Linked DNA regions of Homo sapiens: region 1 is linked to region 2. The links are contacts of gene promoters, found by promoter capture Hi-C in human tissues and cell types (Jung and others, 2019). All regions are on one chromosome and are shown on one strand. The core of a region is centred on a gene start or on the middle of the fragment in contact, and the rest is flanking DNA. Distances in the headings are between cores, read along the strand shown.

Region 1 (7,399 bases), core at 1,985-4,484, 210 kb before region 2:
GCGGTCAGGATTTTGGGGTCAAGAGCAGATTGGTAATCTGTGTCGTGCGTAGGAAGTGATCTTGAGTTCCTGTCCTCTCTCTACCTCCAGGAAATGCCTCGATACCATGAGCTGCCCACCTTGGAAGAACGGTCAGGACCCTTGCACCCTGGAGCCACAAGCCTGGGGTCCCCCATCCCGGTGCCTCCAGGGCCACCTGCTGTGGAAGACGTTTCCCTGGATCTAGAGGATGAGGAGGGGGAGGAGGAGGAAGAGTATCTGGACAAGATCAACCCCATCTATGATGCTCTGTCCTATAGCAGCCCCTCTGATTCCTACCAGGGCAAAGGCTTTGTCATGTCCCGGGCCATGTATGTGTGAGCTGCCATGCGCCTGGCGTCTCACATCTCACCTGTTGATCCCTTAGCTTTCTTGCCAAGGATCTAGTGCCCCCTGACCTCTGGCCAGGCCACTGTCAGTTAACACATATGCATTCCATTTGTGATGTCTACCTTGGTGGCTCCACTATGACCCCTAACCCATGAGCCCAGAGAAATTCACCGTGATAATGGAATCCTGGCAACCTTATCTCATGAGGCAGGAGGTGGGGAAGGTGCTTCTGCACAACCTCTGATCCCAAGGACTCCTCTCCCAGACTGTGACCTTAGACCATACCTCTCACCCCCCAATGCCTCGACTCCCCCAAAATCACAAAGAAGACCCTAGACCTATAATTTGTCTTCAGGTAGTAAATTCCCAATAGGTCTGCTGGAGTGGGCGCTGAGGGCTCCCTGCTGCTCAGACCTGAGCCCTCCAGGCAGCAGGGTCCCACTTACCCCCTCCCCACCCTGTTCCCCAAAGGTGGGAAAGAGGGGATTCCCCAGCCCAAGGCAGGGTTTTCCCAGCACCCTCCTGTAAGCAGAAGTCTCAGGGTCCAGACCCTTCCCTGAGCCCCCACCCCCACCCCAATTCCTGCCTACCAAGCAAGCAGCCCCAGCCTAGGGTCAGACAGGGTGAGCCTCATACAGACTGTGCCTTGATGGCCCCAGCCTTGGGAGAAGAATTTACTGTTAACCTGGAAGACTACTGAATCATTTTACCCTTGCCCAGTGGAATAGGACCTAAACATCCCCCTTCCGGGGAAAGTGGGTCATCTGAATTGGGGGTAGCAATTGATACTGTTTTGTAAACTACATTTCCTACAAAATATGAATTTATACTTTGACCAGGTCTTGCCTTTTCTGTGGGATGTGAAGGGGATGGGGTGAGACATGAAGGGGAATGAGGAAGGAGTCTAAGGGCTTGAGAGAATCAGTGAACTGGGGTCAAGAGAGTTAAAGACAAAAACAAAGGGACCAAAGATACAAAATAAGAATTGAGAGAGTAATGAGCAAAAATGTATCAATCAAAAACAAAATTTTTTTTTTTTTTGAGGCGGAGTCTCGCTCTGTCGCCCAGGCTGGAGTGCAGTGGCATGATCTCGGCTCACTGCAAGCTCCACCTTCTGAGTTAACGCCATTCCTCTGCCTCAGCCTCCCGAGTAGCTGGGACTACAGGCGCCCACCACCACGCCCGGCTTATTTTTTGTATTTTTAGTAGAGACGGGGTTTCACCGCGTTAGCCAAGATGGTCTCGATCTCCTGACCTCGTGATCCACCCGTCTCGGCCTCCCAAAGTGCTGGGATTACAGGCGTGAGCCACTGCGCCCAGCCCTAAAAACAGAATGTTGAGTAATGGAATGGGGAGGGGTCCAGGGCATGCTGTTTAATGAACATTCATAATTGCAACAGCAGTATGATGAATGGGACAAAGATAAAAATAGCAATTGGCCAGATGCAGTGGCTCATTCCTGTAATTCCAGCACTTCGGGAAACTGAGGCGGGAAGCTCGACTGAGTCCAGGAGTTAAGAGACCAGCCTGGGAAACACAGTGAGACCCCGCCTCTACGAAAGTTAGCCGGGCGTGGTGGCACGCACCTGTAGTTCAGCTACTCTGGAGGCTGAGGTAGGAGGATCGATTGAGGCCAGAAGTTCAAGGCTGCAGTAAGCTATGATGGCGCCACTGCACTCCAGCCTGAGTGACAGAGTCCAACCTTGTCTTTAAAAAAATAAAAATTAAAAAAGCAGTAACGAAAGTATAAGAGGCTCAAGTTTAATGAATAAACGGCAAGTAAAAGTAGACTAAAGGCAAAATCATGAATAATGTTGTAATAGGAGCCCAAGGCATGACGGATAATAAACCTGAATGAATGGGCCAGAGGCAGAGTGATGAATAATGGAAAAATAGGGACCGGGGGCAAGGGAGGTAACGGACAGGAGTTCATGGATCCAAAACATGATGGCTAATTAGAGAAGGGCCGGAAGAACGACGAAAGTGAGCAGGCAGGCTGGAGCTAAAAGTAGTCTGGGCAATGAAGCTCAAATGAATGGGGCAGAGGCATGATGGGTAATGGGAGAGGAATGAATGGGCCAAAGATAGAAGCCGCAGTGACGCGAGGAACAAGAGGCATGATGGGTAACGAAAGGGGTGGGTCTAAGGCAACTGTTTCGCTAAGAGGTGATGAGGGCATTGTGGGTAACGAGGAGCAGCGCAGGGTTCGCAGAACAGATTAGAATTCTCCCGAGGCACTCTGGGAAGGGCCAGCACTTCCGGTTTTAGGTCGGCTACTCCGAACCAGAGGTGGGGTGGGGGCCCGGCTGCCGCGGTGCCTGGTGGGACGCGAGGCCTGACCTTGCTGCCTAGCCGCCTCTGCCGCGCAACCCACCTTTACCTGTCCTTCGACCCTGGAACGTTAGCCAATGAGAGTACCAAGCTGATACGCCACCAAGGTCGACCCCGTACACGCTGGAGCCAATCAAAATGCTGCAAGGGTCAAAGCCGACCAATTATCACAGCAACCTCGCCGCGGGGCGGAATCAAAAGAGGGCCTCCTCCAGGAGAGAGGCGGGGCGATGCCTCAGCGGGCGTGGCAAAATGCTCAGCACAGACCAATGGCGGGTTAGCACCGGAACCCGCGGCGACGCGAGCCAATAGGCGCAGGCGCTGCGAGCCAATGGGAAGGGTGGGAGGGGCGCCGTGGCTACCCTGCGAGTGAGAACCAATACAAAAGGACATTTCAGGGAAAGTGGGCGGGACTTTATGCACAAGTCCAATGGGAAGACCGAGTCTTGACGCTGGTGGGCGGGCCTCAGGGCACACTAAACCAATGGGCTAGGTGGGGCGGGGCGACGGTGGTGGCGGCGGCGGCAGCGGGTTCGGTTGCGCGTGGCGCACGGGGTGGGAGCGGAGCCCAGGCCGGGAGCAGGCGCCGCCGCCAGTGAGAACCGGGGCCGGAGCCGGGTGCGGATTTGCTGGGGCTGAGTCGGGGGCGCGCGGGCCCTGACCTCTGCCCTCTGACCTCTCCCCTAGCAGGCGACCATGGGGAACGTGTTGGCTGCCAGCTCGCCGCCCGCAGGGCCGCCACCGCCGCCTGCGCCGGCCCTCGTGGGGCTGCCGCCACCTCCGCCCTCGCCGCCGGGCTTCACGCTGCCGCCGCTGGGAGGCAGCCTGGGCGCCGGCACCAGTACGAGTCGAAGTTCGGAACGGACCCCCGGGGCTGCAACCGCCAGCGCCTCAGGGGCCGCCGAGGATGGGGCCTGCGGCTGCCTGCCCAACCCGGGCACATTCGAGGAGTGCCACCGGAAGTGCAAGGGTGAGGGGCGAGGGGCCCCCGCTGGGCTGCGATGGCCTGGATCTCGGGGGAAGGGGGAGGACACTGGGGACTCTGGGATTTGGCGCGCACCATTGGAATTATTTAACAGCACTAGGAGGTGATGTTGGGATCGAATGGTGGAACGTTGGACTTGGGGCTTAGAATGATGGAATCAAATGCTGGAAACGGGATGGAATGTCATAGCAGTAGAGAAAAGCCTTTAGGGACCTGAGGAGCCCCGGGATCAGCCAAGCCAGACTTCTCTTGTGATCGGGAAGGCAACTGAGGCCCAAGGTCACGGTGTCAGCAAGGTGTCAGCGAGGTTCCTTGGGTATGGGACCCAAAGCCTCCGGATCCCAGCCTGGAGCAATTAGAGTAGTAGTAGTGGTGGAGATTTATGGAGTTCTGTTCTGGTGTTCATTATACGTTAACTCATTAGATCCTTGGGACAATTCTGTGTGGTGAGGGTCCCATCTTTCAGATGATGAGTTTGACCTAAAGTTGCTCAGCTTGGTGGCAGTGAGATTTGAGCAAGCAAAGGCCCTGGCCCTGTCTAACTAGGCTGTACTGCCTCTTTACAGGTGGAATCCTTTGTGAGATGTTCTGCTGTGGGTCTCTGGAGAGAGCTGGGGGTGGTAGGGAAGGAAGAGATGAGAGTTGGTGTGGGGTTGGAGTGGAGTGTGACAGCGTTTCTCTTCTCCAGAGCTGTTTCCCATTCAGATGGAGGGTGTCAAGCTCACAGTCAACAAAGGGTTGAGTAACCATTTTCAGGTGAGCCTTCCTGGTGTCCTTACCCACCAGAGATCGTCCCCGCCGTCCCCCTCCCTGCATCTGCACACTCGGCCCAATTACTCCTCCCTCAAGAGCTGGGCTCCCTGATACTTGAAAAGACTCGGAGATATAGTGCCAGACTGACTACTCAGTTTGGGGACCTAGAATCCAGAGGTACTGTCTCCCCATAGCAGCTAGGCTGGAGTGAAGGAACAGGTCTGTGGGCCTACCGGCAGCACCTCCTTTCTCTGAGTCTCTTAGTCAGGCCGTGCCTCCCAGTCTTCATCCCCTGCCCAGCCCAGAGACCTTGTCCTTGCCCTCTTCAGTGGGCAAGCCTATCTGTCCAGTATCGTCACAGCTCTCGCTTTCCTTCCAGGTCAACCACACAGTAGCCCTCAGCACAATCGGGGAGTCCAACTACCACTTCGGGGTCACATATGTGGGGACAAAGCAGCTGAGTCCCACAGAGGTGAGCTTCCTTTTTCATCCATTCATTGTATCCTTCTAATAACAAATTTGTAGCCAAATGTCAAGCTAAGACGGCCTCATCAGGAAAAGGTCACAGCTACCGAGAGCCTGGAGATGGGGATTGCATCTCTCCGAGGTGCACTGGGACACAAATAATTCCTTCATCCAGCAAACATCCGCCAAACCCCTGCTCTCTGCCTGGCCCCATGCTGAGCAGTGCTGGGGATGTGGCCACAGCCACCCTGTCACCAGACAGCGATGACCCAGGGTGGAAAGGGCTGGACTGTAGATCATGCAGAACTTTGAATGCCAGACTAGGCTTTGGACTTTCTCTAGGGGGTTGTGGAGAGTCATGGCATGGTTTGGTCAAGGGAAAGACGTGGTCCACAGGTTCCCGCTGTAGAAATCTCTGGGGCATCTCTGGGGTGGCCATGTGGGGGCTAGTTATTAGGAAGGGCAAAACTGGAGGCCCAGACAGGGTTGGGGGGACTGAATGAGGTCTCTGCTTCTGTCATTTCCCTTCAGCAAATGTGTTTATTCTGCAAACCTTCATTGCACAACACATTCTGTGCCCAGCCCTGTGCTGGCACACATGACTGAAACAGCATGGGACTCACCCGTGGGGCAGGGGACAGACTGTTCCCAGAGAGTAACAAGCCAGGATGGGCAAGGCTGACATGGGGGAACCCAAAGGTCGGGGAGCCTAACTCAGCTTAGGTGGTCAGAGAGCACTTCGTGGAGGAGGGGACCCCCATCCGAGGCTTTCTGACCCTAGGCTTCTCACCCCGGCCCATCTCACATACTTGCACAGTGCACCACCTCTGACCCCTTCCGTTCTCTCTGCCTCACAGGCGTTCCCTGTACTGGTGGGTGACATGGACAACAGTGGCAGTCTCAACGCTCAGGTCATTCACCAGCTGGGCCCCGGTCTCAGGTCCAAGATGGCCATCCAGGTGAGTGGGGCACGGAGGCTGCTGCTCCCCTCGGCCACCGTGAGCAGGGAGCCGCCCTCACACCCCCTCCTCTCCACAGACCCAGCAGTCGAAGTTTGTGAACTGGCAGGTGGACGGGGAGTATCGGGGCTCTGACTTCACAGCAGCCGTCACCCTGGGGAACCCAGACGTCCTCGTGGGTTCAGGTAAGAGGCGGAGGGCTTGGAGGGTGGTCACAAAACTGCAGTTCTGGCTTTGCCAGCAAATCCACCCCATTTGTGAACCTCCTTTTCTGCCACTGGAGAAGTGGCTCAGCAGGAGTGATTTTGAAACATCAGGCAACATACTACAGTGGGTGAGACGGTCACCCACTGACCATGAGTGGGTGAGTCAGAGCAGTCTTTTTTTTTTTTTTTTTTGAGATGGAGTCTTGCTTTATCACCCAGGTTGGAGTGCCGTGGCACGATCTTGGCTCACTGCAACCTCCATCTCCTGGGTTCATGCAATTCTCCTGCCTCAGCCTCCCGAGTAGCTGGGATTACAGGCATGCGCTACCACGCCTGGCTAATTTTTGTATTTTTAGTAGAGACAGGGTTTCACCACATTGGTCAGGCTGGTCTTGAACTCCTGACCTCAAGGGATCCACCCACCTCAGCCTCCCAAAGTGCTGGGATTACAGGTGTGAGCCACCACGCCCAGCCAGTCAGCGCAATTTTAACTGAGATTTTCTTTTGTATTAAAAAATGTTTTAAGATGGGGTCTTGCTGTATTGGCCAGGCTGGTCTTGGAACTCCTGGCTTCAAGCAATCCTCCCACCTTGACCTTCCAAAGTGCTGGGATGACAGGCGTGAGCCACCTCGCCTGGCCAGGGAAACAGCTTTTCAGCCTGCAAGTAGTGCAGTCGGGACTCGTGAAAGGAACTTGAGGGAGGATGGTCCCCTGGTTGCATAAGGCTTTGCAGAGCCTTGGCCTTCGCTCTGAGTGAGTCTGGGGCTTTCGGAAACCAAGGCATAGCTTCTCACAGGACCCTGCAGCTGGCGTAGAGAGCAGACTCCAAAGGGGGTACCACTGGGAGGGAGTGGACGGGGAGAGGAGGTTGGATTCTGGATGTTGTTTGAAGGCAGAGCTGCCAGGATTTGTTGAGACCGGATGGAGGCGATGACTCTGTAGTTTTTGGCTGGAACTGGAAGGATGGAGTTTCGGATTGCCAGCTTTGTGTCTTTGTGCAGCCATCCACTGTGTCGTGGAGAGCAGGCTCTTGAGCGCTGAGTCCTGAGTGAATGACTCGTGCAGGCGGGGAGGGGAGCTAGGGTTGGCCTTGGACCCCTGGGAGTGCCTAGGGAGAGTCACCACTTCTCGCTGCAGGAGCCCAGGGAGACTCAAAAGTGTTGACTTTTGAGCTGCCAGAGGAGGAGAAGGGGCTACCCCGGCTGGGGGACAGGAGCAAGAAGATTCCAGGCAGGGAGAAGCAGGAACAGGGGTGAGGGAAGGGAAGGGCCATGGCAGAAAACCCAGGAGACAGGGAAGCTGGAGGTGCAGCAGGTGCAGAGAGGCCTCC
Region 2 (6,979 bases), core at 950-3,449:
AGGTGGGGTAAGGGCCCAGCCTTGGTGGGCACGCAGGAGGGGGTCACTGTGGTTCGTGGACAGCTTGAGTCCCTGGAGATTTGTGCTGCTCCTCTGTCCTCAGCATTGCCTGCTGTTCTGACCCTTGGCCTCTGGGACGTGTTCTTCCTGTGCTACTCAGTGTCTGGTATGTGATAGGCGCTCAATATATTCTTGCTGCGTGAGTGACTTGGTGACCCCGTAACCAGTCATGCATTCAGCATGGTGTGGCCGTGCCACGTGTTACGAGTCAGGGCAGAAGACAGGCCCAGTCCATGCTTCTGTGGGGGTCACAGTCAAGTGAGGGAGACACACAGTAAAGAATTCTCAGCAAACCAGGCTTCTGAGGACTCAGATTAGGGAGGGTCCACAGGGTGTGCAGGAGGGCAGGGCAGAGGCAGCTTCCTAGAAAGGACGTCACCAAGGAAATCCAGCAGTAAGCCAGGTGAGGAGCAGTGGGAGGAGTGCACCAGGGGTGGAAGGCAGAGAGAACCAGCCTGGTATGTCTGAAGAACAGAAAAAAGCCAGACTTAGTTGAGGTAGAGGCAGGCTGGTCAGAGGTGAGGCTGGAGGAGGCAGGAGAGACTGCTGTGTGGGGCCTTATGGGCTGTGCTAGCAGGGAGCCCCAGAGGGCTTAAGAAGGGGCCTGGGCTGGGCATGGGGGGCTCACGCCTGTCATCCCAGCACTTCAGGAGCTCCAGGCGGGAAGATCACTTAAGCCCAGGAGTTTAAGACCAGCCTTGGCAACATGACGAGACCTTGTCTCTACAAAAAATACAAAAATCAGCCGGGCATGGTGGCATGTGCCTATAGTCCCAGCTACTCAGGAGGCTGAGGTGGAAGGATCACTTGAGTCCAGGAGGTCGAGGCTTTAGTGAGCTGTGATCACACCACTGCCCTCCAGCCTATGTGACAGAGTGAGACCCTGTCTCAAAAGAAAAAGGAGGGGCATGGTGGGTGTTTTTAACAGAATCCTGTGTGGAGGTGACATGAATAGGGTGAGACTGAGACAGGGAGGCCAGGGAGGGGCCGTGAGCCAGGAGCCCGGAGGCTGTAGGCTTGGCGTAGCCTCATATTGGCTGATAGCTGACACTTGACTTCATTGACTTCTTCATCAGATTCCTCTGAGTCCTCCCCTCCACCAGCAGGTTTGCCGATGCCACTGTTTCCCATAGCACCTCTGAGGTGACTGTTATTCCCCTTCCCTTCTCTCCTTGGATCTGAGTCCCTTCCCTCGTGCTCCCCCAGCCAGCGTGTCCTTGGCCTGCTTGGGACATCCTGCCCCTGCATGGGCTGTGGGAGGCGTGTGGGCTGTGAAGTCCGGTGACCTCTCCAGTGACTTCACCTCCACAGTCCCTTCAGGTCTCACAGTACCCAGATCCAGAAAACTCTACAGACCATCCCAAACCCCTCTGGTGGCTTAGCGCAATATCGGTGTCTGATCAGTCTTATAAAATCCAGAAAATTCTGATTCTAAAACACGTCTGGCCCAAGGGTTCCAGGAGGAGACTCTGGAGCCCGCAGCGGGCCTCGTTCCATGTTTGTGAAATGGCAGTAACCTGAGAGGCAGCACGGGAGCCCCCTGGGTGCCAGTCCCAGCTCTGCCCTTGGGCAAATCACCCAGCTTCTTTGCCTCAGTGTCCCCATTTGTATGGGGATTGAGGATTAAATTAGCCTCTACTTGGAAAGCAGCTGGAACAGTAGCTGGCTGTTGCAGGCGCTCATGAGGACATGGGAAAGTTGAGTGAGGTGGTCACTGCCTTGAACTTGACTGGTTCCTGCCTCCCCCGGCTGTAAGGGTTAGGCAGGTGGGGCTAGATGACCAGCGGGTAGGATCATCTGCCTGAGTGTGATTTCGGCTCCTCCACACTTGGGCTGTGTGGCCTTGGGCAAGTCCCTTGACCTCCCTGGACCACTTTCCCCATTTGTGAAGCCATTTTGCCAGATGAGGACTCTCTCAAAGTTTTTAGACTCTCTGGGAAGACCAGAGAGCCAGGCCTGGGGCCCACGCCAGCAGGAGCACACCCTGCATCAAGTGTGGAGCTGATGCCGCTCCTGTTACATAGCCGCCACAGCACCTCCAGGGCTGAGCCCACGTCAGGCTCCTGGGCTGGAGCCACACAGGAGGCTGGGGTCTGCTGTTTCAGCTAAGAGGAGGTGGGAGATGTGGAGGGGCTTCCCTAATTGCAAGAAGGTGGTTCAGAGGCTGGGTGCCAAAAGGAATTCGAGAGATCCGTCATGCTTGGCTATGTTTCGTACATTAAGTAGGAAGGTCCATGAAGGCAGGACCCATCTTTGTCTTGGCTCACCTGTGTCCCCAGCACCCTCCATGGTGCCTGGCCCTCCGCAGGGTCTCACACTGGATGAATTGGTGGTGGATGGAGGTACACAGTAGGCACTCAGAAGTTGTTCTCACCCCTTCCCTTCCTCTAGGCAGCTGGTACTGAGCGGTTGCCTCAAGGTGGGGGTGGAGGTTTGGAAGTGTCTGCTGACATCCGCACAGCTCATGTGACTTGCCCAGCGCCCATCTCACTTCGCAGCGGAAGCCTGGGTCGGGAGCCCTGCAGTCGGATGCTCCCCTCAGGGCTGGTTGGGTTCCAGCTGGGAATGTGTTCCCTGGTTAGGTGGGCGGGCTCCTCTAGCAAGCTGGCGCTTGGGACCCGCCGGGGTCGGACTCGTGTGCCACCTTCACACCCACCCCTCCCTCTCTCCACGGTCTCCGAGGCTCTCACCAGCTGCTGTCAGCGATGTAGTGGAGAACTGCTCGCGTCCTGTGCAGTCTTCCCTTTTGCAAAGCAAAGCACTGTCACAGCTGAACTCGCTTGGTTCCCCAGGACAACAGGGAGGGAGGGTGGGAGAGTGGGGCTGCCAAAAGGTGAAAGCGAGCCGCAGGGAAGTGACTCTCTGCAGGGGTCATGCCTCCTGGTGGTGGTGATGGAGGTGATGGTACTCAAAGCTCCCATTTATGGAGCGCTTAACAGGGCTAAGCTCTTTACATGCATCGTTAATCTTGGAGGAGGAAACAGGCTCACAGAGGTGCCAAGGCCACACAGGTAGTAGAGGAGGAGCTGAGTTATAGCCCGGCAGCTTGAATGGTTCTGATCCTCTGTCCTGTTTCAGAAAGCCCCCAGGGCTCCACTGTAACTACAGGACAAAGTCCACACCCGTGGGCCTGGTGTGGGAGGCCTTTCCCACAGAACGCCCAGCCTCCTAGACACAGGCGCCTCTGCCTAGCACGCCCCTCGCTAGTCCCCTGCCCTTCCTGACCAATTCCCGTTACCCCTCCCACGCCTAGACGCAGGCGCCTTTGCCCAGCACACCCCTCGATAGTCCCCTGCCCTTCCTGACCAACTCCCCCTCCCGTGCTGCCTTCTGGGCAAGGCCTTCTCTAATCCCCGGACAAAGCTCTGCTCCGCTCGTCTGGGTTCCCATGGCGCCTCCTCGCTCTGTTGTTATTTGTTCGGGCCCATCTCCCCTCCCTGGACCAGTGCTGCAGAGGGCTGCATCCTGTCCATCTGGCTCCTGGGAGGGGTGGAACCACTGAACGCCTCCAGGAACCTTAAGGACTCCGGGCAAAGTGGGGTTGCTTATGAGCACCCAGGCCGGGTGCCGCAAAGCCTTTGTAACCCAGGCACTGGGGCTCAGGACAGTCAGGGAGCATGGGGTGTGGGGAAGGAAGATTTCGTTCACTGAGTCCTTTTTTCCTGCATTCATTCCTTCATTCCTTGCCAACCAGCGCCTGTTTTGCCTCCACTTTGCTGTCCCTGCCATGCCAGGTGGAGGGGCCTCCCAATGGCTCTCCTGCTCCCTCTCCAACCCGCTCCCCACCTAGCAGCCACAGCATTCTTGAAAAAGCAGACTTTGCTATTCCTGTTTCACATCACACTTGTGACCTCCCTGCTGCCTTTCCCTCTGATCTAGTGTCCCTGCAACAGGTTAGGAAGCCCAGGTATAACCTGGCTCTTGCCACCATCGCCGGCCACGACCGAGATCACCTTGCCATGCTCTTGCTGGGTTCAAGCCATCGTGGCTTCCTTTCAGTCCTAGAACACGCAGGCAGCTCCCCACATCCTGTCCTGGAAGACCGGCCCCACCTACGCACACAGGTGGCTCTCACTAATCTTTCAGGTGCCAGCAAACCCTTCCTTCCTGGCCCTCCTAATGGGCTCCCCGTCAGGTGGCCAGCGATCTGCTTATCTGCGGGCCTGCTGATACTCTTGCCCTGGACTGGAAGCATCACTAGGCAGTGGTGGGTTGGGTTTGGTGCCACTGTATTCCCCAGTGCCCCAGACCACGTGGCACTGGGCCTGGCTCTGGGCAGGAGCGCAATATGGCAGGTGGAGAAGGAAGTGGCATGCAATGCTGGGTCTTAGTCCTTGCCATGAGCAGCTCAGACAGTCCCTACCCTAGCATAGTCCCTGGTCCAGAAAAGGAAGTGGGCAGAGAGGAGGAGGAGCTTTAGGGAGGGGAGTACAAAGCCTGCCTCTGGTATCCCCCCGCCAGCCTGGTGAGAATGGCAGCGCAGGACTGGCAAACAGGCCCGTCTTTGCTGTTGACTTGCTGGGGGTCATAGGCCAGGATGCTTGCCCTCTCTGTGGGGCAGGATGGTGCCCGGGGTCCTTTCCCACTGCGCGTCAGTGTTTCCCATCTCTCCATGTAGGACACCGCACCATTTAGGGAGTGATTGGATCCCAGGACCTCCTCCCTGTCACGGGGTGGCAGGCAAGGTTCTGATAATTGATCTGCCGTGTACCTTTGTGGCAGGTGACCTAATTCCCCATTCCCTGTGACCCATGTGTCACAGGTGTCAGGGGCGACCGGCCACCCAGCCAAGCTTCCATGACTCCGTTCTCACTCTGTGTTCTGTAATCCCCTTCTGTCACGGGCTTGGGATCCTTGATTCCCGGCCCGGTTCTGCCTACTATGATCACAATGAACAGTCAGTGTTCCGTTTCCCTGGAGGGCTGCCTTCCTTGCTGTGCCTGGACCTGTGTTCCCTGCTGGACAAGTCCCAGGGGGTCAGGCCCGGGGCTTTCTCGGTCCCTGCTGTGTCTCCTGCACAGCTCCAGGCACAGAGCAGGTGTTCAGTAAATGTTGTTCCATTAAAATGGAGTTGGGGCTGTTGCTGGCAGAGCCCAGGGACAGCGCCCTCATGGAGCCTGGCTTAGAGTGCCCAAGTCTGACAGTGGCCTGATCCTGTCTGGTCCTGGGGTGGAGCAGACACCAACAGGCGGGGCCATCTGACTGAATGTCCTCCCACCAGCTGTTAGGTCCAGGTGTTTGTGCTTACTGCCTTCCAGTGCAGTCAAAAGAATCCAGGGCTGGCACCAGCCCCTTCCTCATCTCAGGGGTAGAGGGGTAACCAGAGAGGGGCGGCACTTACCCAAGGATGCCCTGGCACTTGGGTCCAGGCTCCTGCTGCTCTCCTCGGCCACCCCTCCAGCTGTTTTGTTTTTGTTTTTGTTTTTTTTTTGAGATGGAGTTTCGCTCTTGTTGCCCAGGCTGGAGTACAGTGGCAGGATCTTGGCTTACTGAAACCTTTGCCTCCCAAGTTTAAGCGATTCTCCTGCCTCAGCCTCCCAAGTAGCTGGGATTATAGGCATGCGCCACCATGCCCAGCTAATTTTTTTGTATTTTTAGTAGAGACAGGGTTTCACCATGTTGGCTGGGCTGATCTCGAACTCCTGACCTCAAATGATCCACCCGCCTCGGCCTCCCAAAGCTCTGGGATTACAGGCGTGAGCCGCCGCGCCTGGCCTGTTTGTTTTGAGATGAGGTCTTCCTCTGTCGCCCAGGCTGGAGTGCAGTAGTGCAATCCTAGCTCACTGCAGCCTCCACCTCCCAGGCTCAAGTGATCCTCTTGCCTCAGCCTCCAGATTAGCTAGAACCACAGGCACAAGCCACCATGCCTGGCTGATTTTCTTATTTTTAATTGTTTTGTAGAGATGGATTTGCACCGGGTTGCTCAGGCTTCGTTGTGCTTTTGATTTGCATTTCCTTATGGCTAATGATGTTGAGCATCTTTTTTTTTTTTTTTTTTTTTTTTTTTGAGATGGAGTCTCGCTCTGTCACCCAGGCTGGAGTGCAGTGGCGTGATCTCGGCTCACTGCACGCTCCGCCTCCCAGGTTCACGCCATTCTCCTGCCTCAGCCTCCCAAGTTGCTGAGACTACAGGCGCCCGCCACCATGCCCGGCTAATTTTTTGTGTTTTTAGTAGAGACGGGATTTCACCATGTTAGCCAGGATGGTCTCAATCTCCTGAACTCGTGATCCGCCCACCTTGGCCTCCCAAAGTGCTGGGATTAGAGGCATGAGCCACCGTGCCCAGCTGATGTTGAGCATCTTTTTATGTGCTTGCTGAACACTTGTGTATCTTCTTTGGAGAAATGTCTTTTTAGTTCTTTTGCCCATTTTTAAATTGAGCCAGCCGGGCACAGTGATTCATGCCTATAATCCCAGCACTTTGGGAGGCCGAAGAGTTCGCGACCAGCCTGGGCAACATAGCAAGACCCAGTCTCTATTAAAAAAAAGGGGAGCCAGGCGCAGTGGCTCACAATTGTAATCCCAGCACTTTGGGAAGCCAAGGTGGGCAGATCATTTGAGCCCAGGAGTTCGAGACCAGCCTGGACGACATGGTGAGACCCCATCTCTATAAAAAAATGTAAAAAATTAACCAAGCCTGGTGGCTCATGCCTGTAGTCCCAGCTACCTGGGAGGCTAATGTGGGAGGATTGCTTGAGCCCAGGAGGTCGAGGCTGCAATGAGCTGTGGTCTTGCCATTGGACTCCAGCCTAGGTGAGACTCTGTCTCAAAAATAAATAAAAAATAAGTAAATGAATTGTTTGTCCCTTCATTATTGAGTTGTGAGAGTTCTATATACGTGTATCCCGGATGCAGGACTTCTCAGCTGAGCGATTTGCACCACCTGGGATGTTTTCAGCGTGTAATGCCAGTGCATTTC

What was found. The method cuts DNA at HindIII sites, captures the fragments that hold promoters and counts their contacts. A contact is called where the count stands out against the background at its distance.
Region 1: a contact is called between the fragment with the promoter of TOMM40 here and a fragment that was not itself captured in region 2, in 1 of the 25 tissues and cell types used here (spleen).

What each region holds. Positions count from the first base shown.
Region 1 is chr19:44,888,020-44,895,418 of GRCh38, forward strand. TOMM40 (translocase of outer mitochondrial membrane 40) reads left to right here and starts at 3,235. Exons shown (of 9, transcript NM_001128917.2): 1 at 3,235-3,670; 2 at 4,374-4,441; 3 at 4,818-4,910; 4 at 5,761-5,862; 5 at 5,942-6,047. The coding sequence starts at 3,397. It overlaps NECTIN2 (nectin cell adhesion molecule 2), which reads left to right. Exons shown (of 9, transcript NM_001042724.2): 9 at 91-1,204. The coding sequence ends at 360. RefSeq lists enhancers at 1,791-2,292, 2,462-2,621 and a silencer at 2,932-3,571. The HindIII fragment of the contact is 8,270 bases long and covers 1-7,399 here.
Region 2 is chr19:45,100,768-45,107,746 of GRCh38, forward strand. The region is part of intron 1 of PPP1R37 (protein phosphatase 1 regulatory subunit 37); the gene reads left to right. Among named protein-coding and RNA genes, the nearest start is that of PPP1R37, 11 kb to the left of the region's middle. RefSeq lists an enhancer at 4,438-5,027. The HindIII fragment of the contact is 9,683 bases long and covers 1-6,979 here.